Regions from separate parts of the Homo sapiens genome. Here region 1 is linked to region 2. The links are contacts of gene promoters, found by promoter capture Hi-C in blood cells and fetal thymus (Javierre and others, 2016). All regions are on one chromosome and are shown on one strand. The core of a region is centred on a gene start or on the middle of the fragment in contact, and the rest is flanking DNA. Distances in the headings are between cores, read along the strand shown.

Region 1 (6,904 bases), core at 4,405-6,904, 720 kb before region 2:
AGCAGCTCTGAGTGTCCTAGTGCCCCTCATCATCAGCCGGGCAGTTCTGAGTGTCCTAGTGCCCATCATCATCAGCCGGGCAGCTCTGAGTGTCCTAGTGCCCCTCATCATCAGCCGGGCAGCTCTGAGTGTCCTAGTGCCCATTATCATCAGCCGAGCAGCTCTGAGTGTCCTAGTGCCCATTATCATCAGCCGAGCAGCTCTGTGTGTCCTAGTGCCCATTATCATCAGCCGGGCAGCTGAGTGTCCTAGTGCCCATTATCATCAGCCGAGCAGCTCTGAGTGTCCTAGTGCCCATCATCGTCAGCCGAGCAGCTCTGCGTGTCCTAGTGCCCATCATCGTCAGCCGAGCAGCTCTGCGTGTCCTAGTGCCCGTCATCGTCAGCCGAGCAGCTCTGAGTGTCCTAGTGCCCATCATCGTCAGCCGAGCAGCTCTGAGTGTCCTAGTGCCCATCATTATCATCAGTGGAGTCACAGCACACAACTCATTTGTTTCCGGTCTCCTTTCCTCACTGAAACGCTCTCAAGATTCAGCAGTTCTGCTGCATGTGCCACGTCTGCTTGTTGCTGTGTGGTGGTCCACCAGTGAGCTTGTCAGTTTTGTTTATCCTTTCTGTTGATGGATGTTTATTTTATTTGTTTCCAGTTCCGGGCTATTAGGAATAAAGCTGTAAGCATGTGTAGACCTAACTTTGTGTGGACACATGTTTTTTTTCCTCTTGGGTGCATACCTGGGATTGGAACTGCTGGGTTCTGTGGTAAGCACCAATCTCTTCCAGAGTGGCTGTCCCCCTTGACACCCCAGCAAGGTTGTCCCACAGCCTCGCCAAGGGTTGGCCTTTGAGTTTTATCCTGGCCACTACAGGGTGGTATTTTATTGTGATGTTAATTTGCACTTCCCTGCTGAGTAACGATGCTGCTCATCTTTTTGTTGTACTTATTTGCCACTTGTATTTCTTGTTTTGTGAAATGAACATTCAGATTTTTTGCCCATTTGTTTAAGTGTTTGTGTTATTCCTGAGTTGTAAGAGCCTGTTGTTTGTTCTGGGTATAAGTCCTTTATCAGGTGTACTTGCCAACACGATATTCCTATCCTGTGCCTTGCCTTTCTGTTTCCTAGACAGTACCATTTGAAGAACCAAATGTTGTTTTTTTTGGTGGGGGTGGGGGGTTTCTTTTCTTTTTCTTTTTTTTTTTTGAGACATTGTTTGCTCTCGTTGCCCAGGCTGGAATGCAATGGCCTGATCTCAGCTCACTGCAACCTCTACCTCCCAGATTCAAGCGATTATCCTCTCTCAGCCTCCCAAGTAGCTCGGATTACAGGCTCCCACCACCATGGCCGGCTAATTTTTTGTATTTTTAGTAAAGACGGGGTTTCACCATGTTGGCCAGGCCGGTCTCGACCTGACGTCAGGTGATCCACCCTCGTTGGTCTCCCAAAGCGCTGAGATGACAGGCGTGAGCCACCATGCGCAGTCTAGAACCAAATGTTTTAATTCTGTTACCATTTTTTTTCTCTAGTCAGTGCTTTTTGTGTCCTGTCTTAAAATTTTTCACCTAGCCCAGGCAGCAAAGATTTTCACCTGCATTTTCTTCAAGAAGTTTTATAGTTTTAAGATATATGCTATTTGGAATTGCTATTTCTAGATGGTATGAGGTAGTAGTCACGTTTTTTCCATTTTTCCTCATACAGATACCTCGTTTCCAGCACCATTTGTTGAAAAGAGAACCCTTAATTTATTAAAGTATGCAGTGCTTTTGTCGAAAATCAACTCACTTTGTGTGTGTGGTTCTTCCCCAGGACTCTCTCTTCTGTCCCACTCTTCTCTGTTTCGGTCTTTATACTGTTACCATGCTGTCTTGATCATTGTAGCTTTATATTGAATCAGGTGATAGAAGTTACCCAACTTTTCTTCTTTTTCTTTTTTCCAAAATTGTTTTGGCTATCCTAGGACCCTTTGCATTTCCTTATGAATTTCAGAATCAGCTTGTCAGTTTCTAGAAACATTTTCATTGGAACTACTTGAATTTCTAAATTAATTTGGGAAGAAGTGCCATCTTAGGCAAACTGAGTCCTCCAATCCAGTGCCATGGTAAGGTGCTCCATTTATTTAGATCAGTCTCATCCTATATTTTCTTGTAGTTTTCAACGTATTGGTTTTGCACACATTTTGTTAAATTTATTCCTACATATTTTGTGGTTTGGGATGCTATTATAAATGATTTTTTAATTTTCCACTTATTTGTTGCAAGTATATAGAAGTACAATTAGCTGTTGTATATTGATCTCGTATCATGTGACTTTGTTAAATTCATTCATTTCTGTAGTTTGTTTCTTTATTTTTCTTCTTTTCCTTCCCTCCCTCCCTCCCTCCCTTCCTTCCTTCCTTCTTTTCTCTCCTTTTTACTTTTTTCTTTCAATAAAAACAAGGTATTCTGTGTTGCCCAGGCTGGAGTAGAGTGGCTATTCTCTAGTGATTTTTTTCTTTTTTTTTGAGATGGAGTTTCTCTCTTGTTGCCCAGGCTGGAGTGCAGTGGCGCAATCTTGGCTCACTGCAACCCCCACCTCGCCAGTTCAAGTGATTCTCCTGTCTCAGCCTCCCGAGTAGCTGGGATTAAAGGCATGTGCCACCACACCCGGCTAATTTTGTAGTGATTTTTTTTTTCTTTGAACAGGGTTATTTAGAGATATGTTACTTATTTTCCAAATAATTGAGAATTTTTTAAATAGATTCTATTGCTCAGGATTTTTCATTCAATTCTATAAGGCCCAGACAACATACCCTCTAATATTTTAGTCTGTTAAAAAATGTTGGAGACTTATTTTACGCCCCAGTATATGGCCTAACTTCATGAATATTTCATGTACACTTAACGAATGTAGCATTCAATAGTTATAAAAGTCCCCTCCACAAGCTGGAAACCCTGGGATGCCAGTGTCATGGCTCAGTCCAAGTCCAAAGGCTTCAGAACCAGGGAAGTCAGTGGTGTCACTCTTGGTCCTGGGCCAAAGGTCTCAGAGCCCTGAGGAGAGAGGAGGTGCTGGTGACATCTGGGAGTCCAAAGGTCGGGGGGCCTGGAGGTGTCCAAGGACGGGGGAGGAAGAGTGTATCCCAGCTCCAGCAAACAGATGGACATATTCGCCTTATCTTTGTTTTTATTTTATCTGGGCCCCCAGCCTATTAGATGGTGCCCACCCTCATGGAGGGTAGATCTTCCTCACCTGGTCAGTCACCTCTGGAAACATCTTCTCAGACATACTCAAAATAATCCTTTACCGGGTTTCTAGGTGTTCCTTAATCGGTCACCTTTGACCTTTGACACCTAAAATTAACCATGACACCCACACCCACCTCTGGCTGCTTTCAAGTTTCTATTTTCTTGCCTTTGATTATCAGCCAAAGTTTTGCTGTGATATAATTAGAATTTGTGGCTTGATATATTTTGTTAGGCTCAGAAAATTGGCCATGATCTTTTCAAATATTGCTTGTGTTCTGTTGTCTTTCCTATCTTCTTCTGGGTCTCTGGTTACACATGTGTTCAGTCTTTTGCAATTTTCAATGTGTCCCTTATGCTTTCATCCATATTTTCCATTATTCTCTAAGCTTCAATGTGGATATTTCCTACTGATCATTTTCCATTTTACTAATCCTTTCTTCATCTGTGTCTAATTTGTCTATTTCATTATTGGGGCCTTAATTTGAGTTATTATGTTTTTCAGTTGTAGAATTTATATTTTAATCTTTTTGATAAATTCTGATTACCTGCAGAAATTCTCCATATTGTCTTCTAATAACTCCAGTATTGGTATCCCCTGGGTGAGGGTGGGGGAGGTGTCTATTTCCTGTTTTTTCTTTTGATCTTATCTCCTAGTAACCTAAGGAGTTTTTCTTTTTTTCTTGGATTCTAGACAATATGTGTGAAAAATTGTAGAGATGACTTGAGGCTTCCTTTGATGTTATCCTCACCAAAGAGCAGTTCTGTGCTTCTGCCTGTTGGTCAAGGATGGACAGCTCGTGTTCAGTAGAGGCTGAGCTGGTTTGAAACCGGACTTCCCAGCCTGTTTCTGGTTAACTCTTACTCCTGGGATGGGACCCTTCAGGGACCCCACCCAAAGCTGGGGTGCTTTTTTTTTTTTTTTTTTTTTTCCTCTTCAGATGGAGTCTCGCTCTGTTGCTCAGGCTGGAGTGCAGTGGCGCGATCTTGGCTCACTGCAAGCTCCGCCTCCTGGGTTCACGCCATTCTCCTGCCTCAGCCTCCTGAGTAGCTGGGACTACAGGCACCCGCCACCACACCCGGCTAATTTTTTTTGTATTTTTAGTAGAGACGGGGTTTCACCCTGTTAGCCAGGATGGTCTCGATCTCCTTACCTCGTGATCCGCCCGCCTCGGCCTCCCAAAGTGCTGGGATTACAGGCGTGAACCACCGTGCCCAACCTCAGGGTGCTTTTTTTCTTTCTTTTTCTTTTTCTTTTTTTTTTCTTTTTTTTTTTTTTTTTGAGAAGGAGTCTTGCTCTGTCACCCAGGCTGAAGTGCAGTGGCATGATCTCGGCTCACTGCAACCTCCACCTCTTGGGTTCAAGCAATTCTGCTGCCTCAACTTCCCGAGTAGCTGGGACTACATGTGCATACCACCATGCCCGGCTGCGCCTCTCCTCCTAGATGGACACTGAATTCCAGTGTTTGTCCCTCCAGCTCCATGAGTCTGAGAAGGCCCCACTTAGCTTCTCAGCCTCTTAGCTACCACATCCCTCTCAGCCTCCACCCCTTGAACCCCTTGACTTCCGGGCAGCAAAAGCATCGGGGCCAGTTGCTCCAAATTGGGTCTCACCTCCACACTTCCTTCTCTTTGGGGTGCTGGTCCTCGCTGACTTGGTGGTTCTCTGACACCTTTAAAGAAACTTCTTAAAACCTGGGTTGTTATCTGCAGGAGGGTTGGTCAGTTACAGAGTAGTCAGCCATGGCCATAAGCAGAACTCCGTTTCATCCACTTCTGGTGCCCCCCACCCCACATGACCCCCCACACATCTGGGGCACTAGAGAGATAGTGCCCATCAGAGAATTGTCTTTTGACAGTGGTCACTCTCACAATTTGCCGGCAAACATTCTGGGCATATAGGGCTGACTCATTCGGGACTTAGCTGCCATAGGCTTGGATTCTTGTTGGAAACAGCTGCTATAATTTATTCTGATGAATTACTGTTCCAAAGATGGTATTTCTGAGCTTTCCAAGAACACACTGGACATCAGTTCTAGTTACAGTGAAAGTGGGAGGCAGTGGAGAAGGGAAGCACTGGAAGCTCAGCGCTTGTCTGATCAGGTATATGATTTGTAGAGACCAAAAAAAGGTGACTTCTCCCATCCAAGTACTAACCAGGCCCGACCCTCCTTAGCTTCCGAGGTCAGACGAGATCAGGTGCGTTCAGGGTGGTATGGCCGTCGACAAAAAAGGTGACTTCTAAATAAACAATCCCTGTGTTCCCCTGGTGGTCTTCTGGAGGCAGCTGAAGGGCACCTGGATTGTGACATGCCCAGGGGCCCTGGGCTGTGTGTCTACCCTCCTCTGGCAGGGCCACTGCCTGGCTCACAGCCCGTGATGAGTGTGTGGCATGCAGTGGGCGCACAGGCATTGATTGAATCTTTTGAAGATAAAACTAAGCTATCTTTGTTCCATTCTCCTGCTCAGATCACCCGGAAGTTCAGGCTGAATTCTGAAGGCAAACTTGAGCAGACGGTCTCCATGGCAACCACGACACAGCCAATGACTCAGCATCTTCACGTCACCTACAAGAAGGTGACCCCGTAAACCTAGAGCTTCTGGAGCCCTCGGGAGGGCCTGGCTACTGTGCCTCAACGGTTCGGCTCCTCAACAGACAGTCCCTGCGGCAGAAGTGGGTGTGGCCGTGAGCCTCTGCAGGCTCAAGAGTGTTGTCCAGATGTTTCTGTACTGGCATAGAAAAACCAAATAAAAGGCCTTTATTTTTATGGCTGAGGATTTTGAATATTATCACTTGCGTAGGCTGTACATTTTTTTTTTATCTGCTGATGTTTGTTTTCCAAAGCGTTCCCTAAGAAATTAAGAAGGGGGCTGGGTGTGGTGGCTCACGCCTGTAATCCCAGTACTATGGGAGACCAAGGCTGGCGGATCACCTAAGGTCAGGAGTTCGAGACCAGCCTGACCAACATGGAGAAACCCCGTCTCTACTTAAAATACAAAAAATTAGCCAGGTGTGGTGGCGCATGCCTATAATCCTGGCTACTTGGGAGGCTAAGGCAGGAGAATCGCTTGAACCCAGGAGTTGGAGGTTGCAGTGAGCCAAGATCGCACCACTGCACTCCAGCCTGGGAGACAAGAGCAAGACTCTGTCTGGAAAAAAAAAAAAAAAAAAATTAAGAAGGGATGAATCTCTTTCCTTTTCTTTCTTCTTACAGTTTTGACAAGATCTAAAATATTTGTAAATCTTCTATAGAGTTGGCCGGGCGCAGTGGCTCACGCCTATAATCCCAGCACTTTGGGAGGCCAAGGCGAGGAAATGGCTTGAAGCCAGGAGTTTGGGACCAGCCTGGGCAACGTGGCAAAACCCCATCCCTACAAAAAAAAATAGAAATATTAGCCGAGTATGGTGGTCCATGCCTGTGGTCCCACCTACTCAGAAGGCTGAGGTGGGAGGATCCCTGGAGCCCGGGTGGTGGAGGTTGCAGTGAACCAAGATCACACCACTGCACTCCAACTTGGGTGACAGAGCAAGACCCTGTCTCCAAAAAAAAAAGATGGCAGTCATTTTCTCATTACTTTTAAAGAGCCGAGTCTATATTTTCCTACAGATGGAGCATTCCCAAGAGGCTAGCTGTGATCTTAACATCATCATGTAAGTTTTAGTTTGTAACTCTAATACAGCTTTCGT
Region 2 (7,055 bases), core at 146-2,645:
AGCCTTGACCTCTGTTGGAGCTGGGGACTCCAGGAATCAGGCCCTCACCCCCTCCCTGTCTCTGCCCTATCCTGTGTGCTGTTCAGGGCCAGGTTGTGGGAGGGGAAGAACCTGCGGCCAAGGGGACAGAATGGGGAAAAGGGAAGCCATATACCACAGGCATCTGAGCCTGCGTGCCCTGATGTCCACTTGGGGTCCTGGCCTCTGCCGACCCTGGGTCCCCTTGAAAAGTTTGTGGACTTGGGGTTGGGACCCTCTTGGCTGTTGCGGTCGCGTATTAACCAGCATGGCCATTGTGGAGCTCACCAAGCTGATGTCCCTCAATGCCACAATCAATCATTAAACCCAGGGCACACTCCTGCTCCTGTGTCTCTCCCAGAAAAGTGTACTCCGGAGGCGAATACTCTGCCCATACCTCCATATTTTGTGTATCACATCAAGATTCCAGAAGGAAGGCTGCTGAGATTTGAGGGGAGGCTTCAGCTTCTGAAACCCCACCCTGTCACAAAGCAGAGCTGGTGCCTGGGGCCCTGGACAGCGGCCGGGGCTCTCAGGAGTGTGTGCTGGGACCAGAGGCTTCCCTGTAGTTCCGTCCTGCACATGCTCCAGAAACAGCTCAAGGAGACTGGGGGGATCGGGGCACCTGTGCTGCTCCCAGCCCTATCAGAGTCAGGCCTCATGAGTGCCCGACACCGCCTGGAGGAGGCAGTGGGCTGGCAGGAGGTTCGTGCGCACAGGGCCACAAGGTGGGTAAGCGCTCACCCAGGAACGGGGGCTGCCAGCTTCAAACAGAGGGAGGCCAGGGAGGCCTTGAAGGATGGATCCAGGGCCATCCCCACCTGGGCCTCTCCCTTACCTATGCGCTCCCCGATGTCCACGGCTCGCTGCCCCCAAATGCCATTGGCCCCAACCAGGAAGGAGTCCCCAGGCTCCAGCACATTGACCAGGGCGGCCTCCAGGGCACAGTGTCCCGAGCCAGAGATGACCAGTGTGAGTGGGTTCCTGGTCTGGAACACGTACTGGATGCCTTCCTTGATCTCGTCCATGATCTGCATGCGGGTGGTATAGGGTGAGACCCAGGCTCCCCGCCTCCCCAAGTGAGGAGGCAGTGACCCCCTTCCCTCGTCCACGATCTGTGGGTGGGAACATGGGTGAGACCCAGGCCCCCCGAGTGACCCCCACTCCTACCTGGTACATATCCTTGCTCATGGACCCGATCATCTGCAGCCCCCCGGCTGCCATGATGCGAGGAGGCAGGTTGGAAGGACCAGGCCCCAGCAGGAGCTGGTTGGGGATGGAGAGGGGCTTGAGCAGGGCCTTGGGGGGGGTCACCAGCAGCTTGTGAGAGGCCATGGTCCGCACCCAACCTGCCGCTCGGGAACCTGGGGCTGCACTGGCCTTGGCCAAAGCCTGGAATATTTCCCAGCAGGGCGGACACAGAGGTGAGAGGTGAGGATTGGTGGATGGGCTTCCGTGGCAGCCCTGCCTTTTGTTCCCTGAGGCTTATCTGTGCTTGTGCTGCGGGTCACGGCCAGGCAGCAGGGGACGAAGCCCTCAGGCAGAGGGAGCCCCCAGGGCTGAGTGACAGAAAAACAGAGTGTGACAAAGCTGTCCTCACCCCAGCCCTCCTCGCTCCCACTCTGAGTCCTGCACGTCCAGCCCCTCTTATTCTGCTTAGCTCAGGGGTGAGAGAAGTGTTTCTTAAAGGGTCGGAGCACAGATAATTGAGGCTTGGCAGGCCCTGTGGTCTATGTTGCAACAACTCAACCCTGCTGCGTGCTTGCAAAGCAGCTGCCAGAGGTGTGGGCGTGTTCCTATAAAACTTTATTTACAAAAAGCAGGTGGCAGGCCAGATTGGGCCCATGGACTGTGGTTTGCTGACCCTGGCGCAGCTGATGGGAAGGCTTGTAAACCAAAAATAAAATTCGAAGGCCCCCCAGCAACCATCTGAATGGGGTTCCCTGTCCGCCAGGGTGCTCTAAACTTTAACCCGGAAGACGTTCAGGCCATGCCACATCATAACCCCCAGCATTAACATCGACATAGACCTTAAGTCTGATAGGAAGCATTTACCATCTATTTTCTCTCTAAATCCCGCTACCTGAAGGCATCATCTGCTCCCTGCAACCCCTATTTCATAACCCAGACACTCCTTTCTGCTGATAATAATTCTTCAGTCAGTTGCCAATCAAAATATGTTTAAATCTACCTATGACCTGGAAGCCCCCCAATTCAAGTTGTCCCGCCCTTCCAGATGGAACCAATGTAAATCTCCCATGTATTGATTGATGCCTCATATCTCCCTAAAATGTATAAAAGCAAGCTGTGCCCCGACCACCTTGGGCCCTTGTGGTCAGGGGTGCACCCTTGAGCTTGGCAAGGATGTCCTCCCTCCTGAGGCTGTACCACGGGTGCATCCTTAGCCTTGGCAACAAAAACTTTCTAAATTAATTGAGACCTGTTTGAGGTACTTTTTGGTTTACAGGCTCAATTTAGCAAGCAAACCTGCATGGTATACAGACACACACAAGGCAGGGGTTGCACAGTGAGTTTCAGCATGCTGCATTCCAGAGATGTATAGAAATTCTAGTTATGTATAAGTTTTAGGTTGAAAAGAGGCCTGGAACCAGGTGCCAACTTTAGATAATAGGGAAGTCTAATTCATTCTACATTTCTCAAATAAAGAGGCTCCCCTCCACCCACCCCACCTGGGGCCTGCTTGATGGTCTCCAGGTGATCTTTGCTGTCCTCATTTTCCCTCTGACAAATATCTTGGTGAAATCTTTGACCCTTCCTTTTCTGCCATGCTCATGTCCACCTGCTTCCTGTTGGGGTCTCAAGAAAGGGGAAACGGCACAGTGAAGAGGGGTGTCCAGTGCGCCTGACTACTTGCTGCTGAAAGGGAGTTCAGGGGGGTAGGTCACGTTTTTCCCTTTCTTGCTCTCGGTCATGAAGGGAATAAAGGGTCATGAAAACTTGTGCACGGAGGCACGTGATGGGATTCCATCAAGAAGCCCCACGTAAATGGGAGCTGCAGTTGCAGGCCGGTATTTCCATCAAGAAGCCCCATGTAAATCGAGCTGCAGTTGCAGGCCAGTGTTGGGAATGCATAGCCTTCTGCAGGTGGAATTGTTCTCATGTAGAACATAGAAAAGCAATCAGAGCATTAAAAAGGCAGGGACCAAATATTAAAAGAAAAATGACAGAAGATAAAGGTCTAAGGAATGGGGGAAGCCAAGTGATTTTTTGAAAACCAATCAGTAAAAGTTTTGGCCCAGTCTTGGTTGCTTTGGGAAAGTGTGTGTAGCCATTTGGCTTGTTTGATGATTTCTTGGGCATCGGTTTCCACTTCTCCAGACACATAAATGTAGGTGCAACGGGTCCTGTTGATGACAGCACAGACCCCTCCTTGTTCAGCTAGGAGGTAATCCAGAACTCACCTGTTACCAGACACCAAAATCCTGCTTGTGAGTCTAATGACTTGTAGAGCTGATAGATGGGTGCCAGCTTTTGCTATTTCAAGGGAGGCGGTAGGTTCTCTTACTTGTGATTTCCTGGTAAGTAAAACCTCCCCAAGGGGTAAGAGTTGTGATAGTTCCCACAACTCCGGCCACAGTAAGTCCCAGGGCCCTTTTCCTTCTAGAAGGGAATTCTGAATTAGAAGTGATGTTTAAGACAGTGATTTGGGTGGGAGCTATTGTTCCCAGGCTACAATCACCATAGTGAAGAGAATGATCAAGGTGGGATAGGGCCAAAGCTTGAAAAGGGTTTAAATAGTTTTTAGTGGGGCTGCTAAGCCATAAGAGCCCAGGAGGGGCAGGATGATTATTTTAATTAAAATGTTGGGAAAAAAGGAAATGGGCCTTTTGACAGTTTTAAGAGGACTCATATGGGGGAAAGACTATGTTTATGTACTGATGGAGGAGGTTTAAAAGCAGGCGGGTGCCAGTGCATGGCATAGGATGTAAACCAGGTGGCACGGTGGTTATTTCCTGCACTGGTTGCATCATTATAGTAACATACATGAAGGTATTAGGAGTGCAGGGGTGCTGTATACTGGGAGCCCCACTATACTGGTCCAGTTTAACGGCTTATAAATTGGCAGTGATGAGATAGAGTCAGATTTTTTTTTTTTTTTTTTTTGAGATGGAGTCTCACTCAGTTGCCCAGGCTGGAGTGAAGTGGTGTGACCTTGGCTCACTGCAACCTCTGCTCCTGGGTTCAAGCGATTCTCCTGCCTCAGCCTCCTGAGTAGCTGGGATTACAGGCACCTGCCACCACGCCCTGCTAATTTTTGTATTTTTAGTAGAGACAGGGTTTCACCATGTTGGTCAGACTGGTCTCGAACTCCTGACCTCAGGTGATCCACCCACCTCTACCTCCCAAAGTGTTAGGATTACAGGTGTGAGCCAGCGCACCTGGCCAGAGTCAGAGTTTTGATTGTAGGAGGCGAAGGCCTCAAATGAGTCAAAGTTAGCTGCATGAGTGTCATTATAACAAGGTGTACCTCCCAAAATAACATTACAAGTTAAGGAAGTTTCAGTGATATTGTAAGTGTGGATGGTGGGGGAAGTAATATGATAGCACGAAGAGGGAGGTGGTTTCCAATTTACCAGCACAGAAGGAAATGGTCGGGGTGGGAAGGAGTGGTGAGAAGAATAATGAAATCCCAACAGTACAGTTTGATTGGAGACAGGGTGTGCTTACGAAGAAGAATCTACATGGCTTGGAGTAGCAGGTTGTGGACGGCAAAGCCAGCCACACAGAGTATTTTCTCCTCTCACAATAGCATGTGAGATGCTGAAGATGATATTGTCAAACCAAGAGGATTGGGAAGTTTTTATATGAGAGATAAAGAGAAAAACATGAAAGAAAGAAAAAAGGAGTCTCATTGTTCTAATTCAAGGACTGTTACAAAAGTTGCTCCAAGTATAATTAGAAAAACCACCCTGCAAATAAAAATCTAGTGCAAGCTGAATAATTGTATGTGGGTCTTGAGAAATGGGGATTGGATAAAGAGACAGTAAATTGGCTGGGTGTGGTGGCTCATGCCTGTAATTCCAGCACTTTGGGAGGCTGAGACGGGCGGATCACCTGAGGTCAGAAGTGTGAGAACAGCCTGGCCAACATGGTGAAACCCTGTCTCTACTAAAAATACAAAAAAAAAAAAAAAAAAAAAAAAATAGCCGGGCATGGTGGTGCATGCCTGTAATCCCAGCTACTCAGGAGGTTGAGGCGGGAGAATCACTTGAACCCGGGAGATGGCGGTTGCAGTGAGCCGAGATCGCACCATTGCACTATAGCCTGGGTGACAAGAGCAAAACTCTGTCTCAAAAAAAAAAAAAAAAAAAAAGTAAGTGAATTGAGGATAATCTCAGAAAATTGGAGGACCTAAAAACGCTTCTAGAGTACATAAGGAAATGAATGACAAGGGAGGGAAAGGAAAGTGAATGATAAACACAGCAAAAGGCTTACGTGGTATCCTTTGCTTTTGAAGAGAGGTTAGTGTCACCTGGTTGTTTGCAAAACAAAAATCATAGATCTTCCAAGGGCTCAAAGTGTAAGCAGGCTGGAGTTCTGGCGGCAGTACAGACTTTATGTGGCAAAGGTGGACCCAAGGGGAGAATCCCTGCAGTTAACAGCTGTGGGAGAGGCTATGAGGACTTGAAAGGGTCCAGTCCAGAGGGCTGGAAGGGGTTTTCTGTCTGGAGGCAAAGTTTTTAAATATACCCAGTCCCCAGGTTAACAGGAGGTCTTAGTTCTGATGAGGAGGGGTCAGATTTTGGACAAAATTTATCCTGGTATTCAGTAGTGGCCTGGATAGTTTGCCCAGGGAGGCATCACATTGAGACAGATAATGAGCCTCTGGATCAAGTAATAAGTCCGTTTGTAAAAAGGGGCATCCATAAATAATTTCAAAAGGGCTAAGGTGGGTTGAAACCTTTGGGAATTACTCTAGATCTTAACAGGGCAATAGGAAGAAAAGTTATCCAAAACAGTTGAGTTTCTATAGAGAGCTTAGTGAGAAGGGTTTTCAAAGCTAGCTTGGCCCTTGGATGACTGTGGGTGGTAAGCAGCATGTAAGTGATATTTTATTTGGAGGGCCTCACTGATTCCTGGAGTAATAGAAGAAATAAAGGCCAGGCCATTGTCTGATTGGAGGGATTGAGGGACCCCAAATCGAGGAATAATGTGTTCTAAAAGAGCCGTAGTTACTTCTGATGCTCTTTCTGTTCGAGTGGGAAGGCTTTAGTCCAGCTTGTGAAAGTGTCTATAAAGACTAAAAGGTATCTGAATCCCTTATGAGAGGGCATGTGGGCAGAGTCAGCTTGCCAGTACGCCCCTGGGACAGGCCCTCTACGTTGAATAGGTTGGAGGAGGGCAGGGGGTTCATTGCACCCTCAGGATTTGATTGACAGCAAATTGGGCAGGATTGGGAAATGTCCCATAGAGTTGGGGCTAGGCTAGGTTAGGCCCTTGAAAAAGAGGATCTCTTAAGGCTTGTAAAGTTTCCACCCCCAGGTGGTTAGCTTGATGGAGATTTTAGAGGATTTTCCATTGTGGAACCTCAGGGAGGAGAAGTTTATTTTCAGAGTTTTGAAGCCATCCTTCAGGAATGAATGTGAAACCCTGTTTTAGTGCCTTTTGTAAATTTTGTGGGGTGTGCTGGGGTTTTGGTGGGATTGGGTGAGGAAAGAGGGTGGCCAAGCAGTTGATTTAGTTTGTTTATCTGCATAATTATCCCCTCTGGCAGGATTTGAGTTATCTTTTTGATGAGCCGGACAGTGAAGGATTTTGCTATTTCAATCAGGAGATGTATGTCTTCTAGCAAGGTTGAAATTTCAGGGACATGCTGAATGGGGGTGTTATGGGCTGTGAGAGGTGCATGGTTAGTGGCGGTGTTCTGGGCTGTGAGAGATCCTCTTTGCTTCCAGTGGCTTCATGGGCATGCGTTACGTGACACACAGATTGAGTCAGGATGTAAGTCACTTGAGCTTTATTCCAGTCCCCAGTTAGAGAGCTATGGTAAGGGCTATTAGTTCAGCTTTTTGAGC

What was found. The method cuts DNA at HindIII sites, captures the fragments that hold promoters and counts their contacts. A CHiCAGO score of 5 or more calls a contact.
Region 1: a contact is called between a fragment that was not itself captured here and the fragment with the promoter of AGXT in region 2, in 1 of 17 cell types (naive B cells). The highest score is 5.5, in naive B cells.

Annotation. Positions count from the first base shown.
Region 1 is chr2:241,583,507-241,590,410 of GRCh38, reverse strand. It overlaps THAP4 (THAP domain containing 4), which reads left to right. Exons shown (of 6, transcript NM_015963.6): 6 at 5,686-6,006. The coding sequence ends at 5,805. It also overlaps the pseudogene RNA5SP122. Among named protein-coding and RNA genes, the nearest start is that of BOK-AS1, 28 kb to the right of the region's middle. RefSeq lists enhancers at 1-812, 5,584-6,112. The HindIII fragment of the contact is 4,093 bases long and covers 3,608-6,904 here.
Region 2 is chr2:240,863,164-240,870,218 of GRCh38, reverse strand. AGXT (alanine--glyoxylate aminotransferase) reads right to left here and starts at 1,395. Exons shown (of 11, transcript NM_000030.3): 1 at 1,189-1,395; 2 at 857-1,049. The coding sequence starts at 1,353. RefSeq lists an enhancer at 1,376-1,876. The HindIII fragment of the contact is 16,005 bases long and covers 1-3,759 here.